3 separate regions of the Homo sapiens genome follow, and all the other regions are linked to region 2. The links are contacts of gene promoters, found by promoter capture Hi-C in blood cells and fetal thymus (Javierre and others, 2016). All regions are on one chromosome and are shown on one strand. The core of a region is centred on a gene start or on the middle of the fragment in contact, and the rest is flanking DNA. Distances in the headings are between cores, read along the strand shown. Region 1 overlaps TRIM44 (tripartite motif containing 44). Region 2 holds the start of LDLRAD3 (low density lipoprotein receptor class A domain containing 3). Region 3 overlaps LDLRAD3 (low density lipoprotein receptor class A domain containing 3).

Region 1 (3,271 bases), core at 247-2,746, 210 kb before region 2:
TAAGTAATTCATCTTTATTAAATTCTGTGGATGCATTCAACTTAGTTCTTATGTGAGCAAGTTATCTCTCTTGCATTCACTTTTTGTTATTTAATTAAATGTGTCATCATTACAAGTTCATATAAACAGCCTTGTTTGATTCTTGGTGAACAACATTTCCACTGGTGGAGGTAGAAATGGGAGGTTGCACAAGAGTGCAGTCTGCCATCAGATATCACAAAGAGCATTTGTGATAATTAGGGATTTGGGAGCAGTGCTTAATCTAACAAGTCATTTAAATGGAAGTTGGTATTTAATAGACTCTCACTTCTGATATTCTCTGAAACCAGAATTTGCTTATAATAGGAGTAGAAATTAATCTTAAAGCTTACCTATATCTTGAATAATTATTTACTATGAGCCTTGTGCTGTGTTAGGTGCGGTGAATACAGAAATGAGCAAAACACAAGTTCTATTCTCAAGGAGTTGAAATCCAAAGAGGGAGGCACTGTTTGATGTTGTCATTGTCAGTTTTCTTCTCTAAGTACTAGTGTAGAGTGGCAAACCCTACAAATGTGGGAGAAAGGAGGAGGATTAACTTATTCAAGATGTTAGTGAAGAAGTTTCGAGTAAGGCTTGATCTTAAAGGATAGATAGGAATTAGCTAGGTTTTTAGAATAGGGATGTGCATTTCAGGTAGCAGGAACATCACATGCATATCTTTTACTAGCAAGGTTAGCAATCCTCTCCGTGCCAACCTATTCAAAACGGCTTTATAATTCATATGTGTGTGTATATTCTTGCTTTGTAACAGTGACCATTGTTTCTGAAAAGAAGCATACATCTATAAGCAGTAGAATTGGATGAACATATAGCAAAACTTTGTGTCCCATCTTTTCTGTCCTTCCCCGCTCTCCCCTAGAAATGTTATTAATTAACAATTCAAGGAAAGTAAAATAATGGCTACTATTTGTTGAACGATTACAAGGTACTAGACACTTGCTTAGTGTTTTACACAGATTTTCTCATTTATTTTAATCCATATGGTGACCCTTTGAGGTAAGAACTAGGATCTTTATGTGCAGATGGAGAAACTGAACCTTGGAGAAGAAAATTGCCAAAAGCTTCACTTTTGGGATTAATGAACCAGAATTTGAGACCATGTTTTTATATTATAACTGAGAAACCCTGTCTCTTAATCATTACACCAAGGTATGTGATTTTGAGGAGGACTTGCTCTAAATTATGGGAGAAAGTTTAGATATTTTTTCCATAAAGTTATCTTAGACAATTAGGCTTAAACATCCAAAAATAATTGAAAAATTTGTGTTGAGATATAATTATGTCATTCATAGTTATGTAACTCATGTTAAATTTAAATTATATAACTTTTTATTGGTATATTATAGATCCCATGAGACATATCAGATGATAAAAATGCGAAGAAATTTTCCACCATCCCTATACCCTCCCTCTACCACTCGCCCTACTTCCCTCTAGTTGGAGTGTGGATGATTAACGCCCTTCCCACTATTGCAGATCTTTAACAGTCTGCCAAAAATGCCCTTCTTATTCGACCTCAAATGGCTAGTTTGATTTAAATCACCTTTCTGGCTGCAGCTGTACTTTACAGGCTTGCACCCTGGCAGTCTCCCTTTACCTCAGTCACGCTCAACCCCACATTGCCCTCAGTTCCAACCTTATACCACCCCCAGCGCCCTGCCCAAAACACACATGTGCACATCCCCATTCTGTAGTTTCACAGAACTCAAGGTCCCTTGAACAACACATTTTTAGAAATTTGCCTTTGCTCTTGCTAGTTCAGTGTTCTTCCCACTTTTCTCTGTTGTCAGCCTGGGAAAATACTATTTATCCCTCAAAGTGGCAATATCAATGTTACCTTCTGTGTGTGAAGCTTTTCCCACCTTCTCCAGGAGAGGCAGTGTTCATAACTTCCCTGTTGATTCTCATATTATTCTGTTTATGTCTTTGATATTGATCATAACACATTTAGTAATAGTTCATTTTCTTTCTGCCTGTTTCTCATGCTCCTGATTCGAAAATCCTAGAAGGTTAGATCATTATGAGTGATTGTTTTTCCTTAGTTAGCATATATATATATAGTAGCTTCTTAATGAATCCTACTGAATTGTTACTGATACTGATATATAGCCTTTATTAAATACATCCTGTGTCACAGGCACTGTGTTTGATGATTATAAGCATTATTTCATTTAATCCTCATACTCATCCTATGATACAGAGACAATTATTACCCCATTTTACAAATTAGGAAATTGAAGTTAAGAAAGGCAAAATAACATGAGTAAGCTATTAGAGCAGTAGAGTGATAGGGTTAAGACTTGAACCCAGAACATCGGACTTGAGAGCTCATTCTGCCTTATACCAGTAGGAACCATTCATTCATTCATTCATTCTCCGAGGAGTACAACCAGAATGTACATTCTCTATTGAGACTACCCTTCAATGGCTAAAAAGAAGGATATAAAAGATACGCTGACACCAAAAGGATGAATGAGGTCCCTTGGGAAAGGCTTGAGAGTTATTTGAAAAATCTAATTTGATCACAGAAGGAAGCTCAAAGGAATCTGCTGTGATCACTTCTGATAAAGTTAGGTTGAGAGAATGCCATACCTGGAAAAATAATGTTAACACATTGTTTTTGAAAAGTGGGCAAGAAAAAGAGAAGAGCCATTGTTTGATGGAAGAATGATGTGGATCATCAAATGCCAGAACTAACCACTTACGGAGGAGAAGACCAAAGTCCAGATTAATTAATGTTTGCCCAAGGACACATAACTAATAAGTAACAGAGCTTGGACTAGAATCCCAATTTCTTGAGTCCCAGTTCAGTGCCCTTTATACCACAGTGTTCTTTATATTAGAATTGCAGTGTTCATGTTTGATGAAAAATGCTAGAACAAGGCAGAAATGAGTCTTTGAAGGAAACAGTTTGATGTTTTTGGAACTGGCTAGCTTTTGTCTAAGACGTGCCTCTATTTTGGGTTTCTCACTTTGCTAAGAACTAAATACTGCCAGCCATACAAATAAAAAGGCAAGGCAATTATTTAGGCCTCCTAGGTCTGTGCATTCACTTCTCTGCTCTGCTTGTCAGGGCAAATTATCAGGTCATCTCCACTGGGCAGTTTGAACATAGGATTATATTAGCTCTTGTCTTAGCCTTTAGATGTCTGTTGGTTTGTCTCTGTTACAATAAATGTATAGTCCATGCATTCAGGTTGGGAGAGGGGAGGGAAAAGAAAGAAATCTG
Region 2 (3,591 bases), core at 1,059-3,558:
TTGGAATTCTAAAGAACTGGGAAAAAGGAGAGTAATAAAGTATAAAGAATAGTTTCATCTCCTACCCAGCTTATACGGTGAGGAGGAGGTTGGCAGTGATTTAGTATAAGTATAAAAACAACAGTCGGGCCGGGCACGGTGGCTCACACCTGTAATCCCAGCACTTTGGGAGGCCGAGATGGGCGGATCACGAGGTCAGGAGATCGAGACCAGCCTGGCCAACATGGTGAAACCCCCGTTTCTACTAAAAATACAAAAATTAGCTGGGCATGGTGGCGGGTGCTTGTAGTCCCAGCTACTTGGGAGGCTGAGGCAGGAGAATCCCTGGAACTCGGGAGGCGGAGGTTGCAGTGAGCCAAAATGTGCCACTGCACCCAGCCTGGGCAACAGAGTGAGACTCTGTTTCATAAATAAATAAATAGATAAATAAATAAATAAATACAACAGTTGACCTTAAATAAGGTTTTACATTAGTCCAAATGATTTCAAAGACATTAATATATTTATATTTAAAAGTGTGTGTGCCTGTGTGTATGTGAGAGAGAGAGAACGAGAGAGAGAGTCAGAGTCAAACTTGCAAAGTAAGGAAGTTGATGTGTCCAAAGAAACCTAAGGAAATAAGAACTATAGCAGTGGGTCAGTTGCATTATCTTTCCGTATCCCTAATGTTTGGAGGCAAATGAGCAGCTGTAGGAGAAATTATTTGCTTATTTGCCTCCTCAGATATTATTATCAAAGGCAGGAGGCCTCTTCCCAACAAGCTTCCCGGAACAATGCACATACCCACATGCACAGGACATTTTGCATAAAATTTTAAGGGCTTTAAAATTCTTTGAAGCCCATGGGACGATCTCCATAATATTCATCAATCCCAGGATAAAAGCCCCGAATGCCAAATCATTTAGATAATTGATTTATATTTTCCATGTGTACTATGAACTATGGAACTTAACCTTTCCTCCCTCACATCACATTTTCTCATTACCTTGAACAATCATTGGTATTTTTAAATTTTGACCTGATCCTTTTTAGCCTTTATGTTTCCAGACTACAGCACGCAATTACAGAGTAAAGTAATTGAATCTTAACACCCTTGAGGGTGTCTCCAGGGCATCCCAAAATCTGACGCAGGCATCCCTTTTATAACTGCCCCTGTACCCATACCTTCCCCTTTCTTTCAGCCAGGTGGAGTTTGTGTAAATAAACTCAACCCTTTTGAGGGGTGGATTTTAGGGATGCAGTTCTATTGTTTTGACAAATGTATACAGTTGTGTAACTACCTCTATAATCAAGATTAGAACAGTCCCACTGCCCCCAAAAGTTTTAATTTATTGATCCATTTATCAATTGATGGACACTTGAGTTGTTTCCAGTTTTTGGCAATTATTTGCGTTAGTCTTTTGCTTTTTTTGGGTGGGGGATCAGAGAGAGTGGAGCACAGAAGTGTCATCCCCTTCTTCCACCATCTAAGTCTTTTGGGGCTTTTCACCAGTGCCCTCTGGAAGCAAGTGCATTGGTGCAGCTATATTTTTTGCATTTGGGTATCTGCCTTTCATGACCTTTTCCTTTTTTTAATTTTATTTTTTCCAAATTGGGTCCCAAACGTTCAACAGGTCAAGGTGGACACTATGCAGACAAAATAACTCATGTGGTCCACGCTGTGTGCATGGTAGGTGTCAGCTGCTCTTACCGGTGGCTCCCGGATCATCAGCCTTGGAATCAGCCACCATGTTGTTAAAAATGCAGAATCTCAGGCTCCACGCCAGATCTACTGAACCAGAGTCAGTATTTTAACAAGATCGTCAAGTGTGCCGGATGCATATTAAAGTTTGAGAAGCACTGGTATTCCACACTCGCTACTAAAAATATACTACAATTTTCTCATAAGATTTGACCCTTTATTTTAACTTTTTCTCTCTCGGTAGTAAACTCACTTTGTAGTTTGAGTAAAGAACTCAAGTTTTGGTCTGGGCGCTGCATCTCGCTGGGTGTGGAAGCAAAGGCAGAAATGAGAGGGACAAAAGGAAGCAGAGAACAGAGCCCAGGCTGTTAGAAGATCCTCGCGGCCAGACCTGGGAGGCTGAAAGGCTGAGAGACCGAAAGGCTGAACCCTCCGCCGCGCTCGGCGGCCCCTCGGAGTCAGGACACCCAGGGTAACATGCGGGTGGCCACGCGCAGCCCAGGCGCTTGCAAAACTTAGCGGAGCCGGGCCGGGGCCGGGCCCGGGGAAGGCGGGAGGGAGGAGGGCCAGGCGGGAGGGCGGGGACGGCGCGGCGAGGGGCGGGGTCAGCGCCGAGGCCGCGGGGGCAGCAACGACGCCGGGCAGCGGGAGCGGCGGCCGCGCCATGTGGCTGCTGGGGCCGCTGTGCCTGCTGCTGAGCAGCGCCGCGGGTGAGTCGGGGGGCGGCCGGCGAACTTCCCGCGGGGCGCGGGGCGCGGGGCGCGGGGCGCAGCGGCCGGGTGCGATCGCGTCCTCTCCCGGGCGCGGGCCGCTCTCCGGGCGTGGGTGAGCGCGGAGGGCGGACCCCGGCGCCGGGCTGGCCCGGACCCTGCCGAGGGGCCGCCGCGGGGTGCGAGCCGTCCTATTGTGTGGGCGTGCGCGCCGGGTCGTGTTGTGCTGTGTGCGCGGGCGGGGCTCTGTGTGCAGTCCGGGTCTGGGGAGCCCGGCGGCTGCCCCGATTGGGCGTAGCTCGAGTGTGGCTGTGTGTGTGTTGTGTGTGTTGAGGAACGGAGGCGGGGAAAGGAAAGGAGAGGAGAGGAGAGAACTCTTCCCTGGTCTCATCTTCCCAGACGCCTGGTCGCGCGCGGCTGCGTTAGCCTCCTCTGGGCCTCTTCCCGAGTCTCTGGCGTGCACTCCGTGCCTCAGTTTCCCCACCTGCACCGCGGAGGGAGTAGCAAAGCTGCTTCCTTTCATTCCTCTCTGGGACTGTTTGGTTTGGGTAAAGTGAGTTGAAGCAAGGCCGGATCTGGGAATTCATTTTTCCCCACTGATCCTGGGAACCGAAGCTTTATTTAAGACGTCTGACCACCCTACTTGCCCCGCGATGGGCGCCCTGACCGGCGAGGGGCCCTGGGAGAGGACACGGGGCTTCATCCGGCGGCCCTTTGAACCTGGCATCACCACCGCGTGTGCATCCCGGGGCCTGGACCGCAGCAAGCCTCTTTCCCTTCCAGACAGCGTGCTGTTCCCAGGAACTTTTCTGCTGATGTGGGCATGATCCGAATTCCAGCCTGGGAGCCCTTCCTCCTCTGCCCCTGCCCGCCGCCCACAGCTGTCAGCTGTCCCTCCTGGACTGGGCCCGCCCTTGGCCCCTTGACGTTTATTTCTGGGCATCTGATGCCTAGAATGTGGGTGACAGGGCCCAGTGAACTTTCTTCAGCAGAATCTTGCCTGCCTGGTGTTTGTGCCATCCACATGTCCAATAGCTGCCCTATTTTGCCAAGTGCTTCTAGCAGCTTGGCTGTCGAGGTGTCTTTGGTGGCCTGTGGGTTTGCTAAGTTGAGGCTCACTTCATTCTTAGCTGTGCCTTGGAGTTATGAATGCGTTAAAGGGATATCTCCTCTCTTCCTTGATGTCCCTGGTCCTGGGCA
Region 3 (3,637 bases), core at 851-3,350, 220 kb after region 2:
AGATGGTTTCTGTCACTGTGCACCATGTCTGAGAACATGTCTTGGCACACCACCCTGTCCTTCGTCTCCTGATTTATAGCTTGCAATAGACTTGTTGAGTGTGAAGCTAGAACCCAGACAGAATGTTAATGCAGGGAAATGACATGTGAATCAGTGGTGCCCTGGGCTTTGAGTGCACATGACTGAGGGGAGGCCCAGTCAGCTGTGGCTGTGCTCCTCACATTAGCTTTGATTTGCTAGACATTGCATGAAGAATGAAGCAGAGCCTTAGCCGTGAGCTTCTCAGACTGGAGCTAAGCCGTGGTCCCTAAGTCTATAGCTTCCCACTGGAGACTGACTTAATTAGCCAGGATCCTGAGCTTGGCTAATGGTGGGCCCAGTGAATGCTTGATTTGCAATGGAAATGCCCAATTTGGTATGGAGTCTCCATTTTTAAAATGCATTGGCTAACTTTGCAGCTTCCCCCATCCCCTTCTCATGACAGTCTCCCTTTCTGGAATATTTCAAATGCAAAGGGGGAAACAGGGTTGTCGTTATATCTGGATCCTATCCACAAGGGCTCAGCAGCTGTGATGTTCAGCAGGCCAAATACAGACCCAAGAGACCAAACAGCTTCTTCCTTCCCCAAGCAGTTAAAACAAAGATCTGCTCACTGCCTTGCCTGTGTGTCTTCATGGGTGTTTGATATCAGGGTAAACTCTAGGGGCTAAAAGTGGGAGCAGAAAAAGCAATGCAAACGCATTAGGCGAGAAGCCAGGGCGGATCAGCAAAAGGTCTGGAATTATGGAAGGCTGAAGATAAGCAGTTTTGGTTGATTTCCAACACAGGCAGTTGCCTGCTTTAATGTCTGGATAAGAACTTGCCTGTAATTGGTAGATGGATTGCTTGGCTATAAATGGAGCCTGAAAAGAGTCTATTCCCTTCCAGCAATTAAACATCCCCCTGACTGCTGCCACTTTCTCCACTCTGATTATTCAGCAGACCCATTCTTCTTAATACACAGCACCGAGGTGTGGCTTAGCCCAGCCTGGTTTGAATTAGCTTATGGGATCCACATTAATGAAGCCTAGCCTTACTTCCCTGCATATGATGTGTGACTGGGTATAGTCAAGTGCCCAGTGTAGGTAAATAGATTTCGGAGAATGGTGATGTAAGATACCTACCAACCATATGTGGAAATCCTTTTCAGGATGGTTTCCCTCTGCAAGACTGTAAAGGTAGGAAATGCACTGCCTTTCCCACCCCTTCACTCCTGCACCCATTTGATAACCCACTTGAGTGTTTAGAACAGTCTTCCAAAGAGGGATGTGTGCAAGGTGATTGTTTAGGGAAGGAAGGGAGGGAGGGAGGGAGGGAAAAGGGAGAGAGAAAGGGAAAAGGGGAGGGGAAGAAGGGCAGGAAGAAAGAAAAGCTTTAGATTTGATATATAGATTGACGGGATCATGTATATAATGGAAATATACATATATTGGGGGAATAGTGTCTCAAATGGTGGAAGTTCACTGGTTTAGAGCACTGAATGAGCCACCTCAATTTTGCTCCCGTTTTCATCTTTGTCCCTAGTGCTGAGTGGCTTCAGTTTTCACTGCTTTGATCTATGTCCTGCCTGACTGGATTAAGAAAATAGAGACCTAGAGCTTCCAGTGGGAAGAGAGGAAATCGGTGACAGAACTGAATTAAGACATCTTTCTAGAAGGAGCCATTTTCCAGCCTCTTACCACTGCCCTGGGTGATCCTCTAGGTCACACAGGAGCTGATATCATGGTTGAGCCCTGGGAATCTCAGCCACGCTCTGTCCCTGTGCATCTCATACAAGCTTCCATGGTGATGAAAATTGTTAAGATGTCTTATGTGAAGCACATGGGCGTTGGGTTTGCTCATCACAAGCTGCCTGCTGCTGATGCTGTTTCACCTATTTAAAATACCCAAGTGTTGCTTTATTTAAAATTGAACAAGAGTCAGCCACTTAGAACATTTATCAATAAACTCATCACTCAAATGGAATTGTGCCCCTGCCCCTGCACTTGCATATGGTCTTAGATTGCTGCTCATTTCCAGGCACAGATGGCTTGCTTCAAAATTTTTTGCTTGAACAGGGTAAAAAAGCGAGAGTTGGTAGCTTTTAAGTGTACAAACTTGCCAAGAAAGGAAAATGCTGTGAGTGGGGATGATTGCTGGCAAGCAGCAGGGTCCGATATAATCCATGTCTGTCCATCCGTGTGTCTGTTCTTCAGCCCTGTGTGGCAGATCCCCTTCCAGTGAGTGAGCTTTAGCAAATGGAGTGTCTATGACAGCTATTTGAATCATCCTAGAATCTACTGGCTTAAAGCTGACAGCTCTGACTCTTCCTTTAACTTCTTAAGTGCAGTGTTTTGGACAGAGATAGAAGCTTTGCGAGCAGGCAGCCCGCCAGATTCTTCTATGTCCCAGATCTGGATGTTAGATTAGAAAATTTGATATTTACAAATGTGCTTCACCTTGAATTAGCCATGACCCAGTTGCTATTGTTTGTTGAAAGAGATATCTTTTAGAATTTTACTTATACAACTGACTTGCTTTTCAAAAGCACAATAAAATCTTATGTTCCCATTATAAAAGTACATATACTCATTACAGGATGTTTGGAAAATATAGAACAGGGAAAATTTTACCCACATTTCCTGCTTCCATAAATAATCACTATTAGCAGTTGGCGTATTTCCTCCCATATCCTTTTCCATGCCTAGGCAATGGAGGCTTTTTGTTCTTGCAACCGTGATACTTTTTATTCAGTTTTACATCCTACTTTTTTTCCCACTTATATTAATAAATATTTTCCCATGTTGTTATAAACTCTTAGTAAGCATTCTTAATGGTTGTATGATATTCTATTAAATGGGTGCATCTTATTTTACTTAGCCACACATCTATTGATGAACATTTAGATTTTGTCAATACATTGTTGTAGACGAAGTTGTGATGGCTTTAAACCTTTTTTTTTTTGCTTTCGTCTTTTGAATTACTTCCTTAGGATAGATTACCGTAAGATTTATATGAGGTATGAACACCTTTAGGGCCCATTACACTTATATTACTAACTTGTTATCCAAATGGATATCTGTTTACACCCCCACAAGCAATTTGATAGAACCTTTTTTTCATCACGTAATTGCCAACATAGGATATTATCATTTTAAAAAATCATTCTTGCACTGCTAGGCAAGAAATGGTATCTAATTGCAGCTCCCTTCTAAGTGTTGATTGAGCCTTTATTTAGGAAGGTCCTGCTGTGTTTTGCATAGTTCATTGGAAATTCTAGGAAAGTGCTCTTGAAAAAGGAAATTATTTATTTTCATTCTACTTTTTCAAACTTCTCACCTCCCCCTCCCACCCCCCAGTTTTAAGTCATCTTACATGAAGAAATATAAGACCAAATTACAGAAGCAGGGAATTAATGATCCAAAGATTCTAGTTAACAAGATGATCACCCAGGTTTCAAAAAATAAGTGATCTCATTTTTATGGCTTAAATATTTTAGTAACCGTTGAGTGCCTACTGTTTATATTTCTTTTCTAGGCTGACTGGCTTGCTTCCTCCCTCCCTCCCTCCCTCCCTCCCTCCCTCCCTTCCTTCCTTCCTTCCTTCCTTCCTCTATTCC

The links. Contacts are between HindIII fragments. The CHiCAGO score rates a contact against its expected background, and 5 or more counts as called.
Region 1: a contact is called between a fragment that was not itself captured here and the fragment with the promoter of LDLRAD3 in region 2, in 1 of 17 cell types (endothelial precursors). The highest score is 5.6, in endothelial precursors.
Region 3: a fragment that was not itself captured here is called in contact with the fragment with the promoter of LDLRAD3 in region 2 in 2 of 17 cell types (endothelial precursors and erythroblasts); the score reaches 8.8 in endothelial precursors.

The regions. Positions count from the first base shown.
Region 1 is chr11:35,732,099-35,735,369 of GRCh38, forward strand. All of the region lies in intron 3 of TRIM44 (tripartite motif containing 44), which reads left to right. Among named protein-coding and RNA genes, the nearest start is that of TRIM44, 71 kb to the left of the region's middle. The HindIII fragment of the contact is 791 bases long and covers 1,102-1,892 here.
Region 2 is chr11:35,941,754-35,945,344 of GRCh38, forward strand. It overlaps LDLRAD3 (low density lipoprotein receptor class A domain containing 3), which reads left to right and starts at 2,309. Exons shown (of 6, transcript NM_174902.4): 1 at 2,309-2,391. The coding sequence starts at 2,346. RefSeq lists a silencer at 2,220-2,659. The HindIII fragment of the contact is 2,245 bases long and covers 760-3,004 here.
Region 3 is chr11:36,162,374-36,166,010 of GRCh38, forward strand. All of the region lies in intron 4 of LDLRAD3 (low density lipoprotein receptor class A domain containing 3), which reads left to right. Among named protein-coding and RNA genes, the nearest start is that of COMMD9, 130 kb to the right of the region's middle. The HindIII fragment of the contact is 573 bases long and covers 1,815-2,387 here.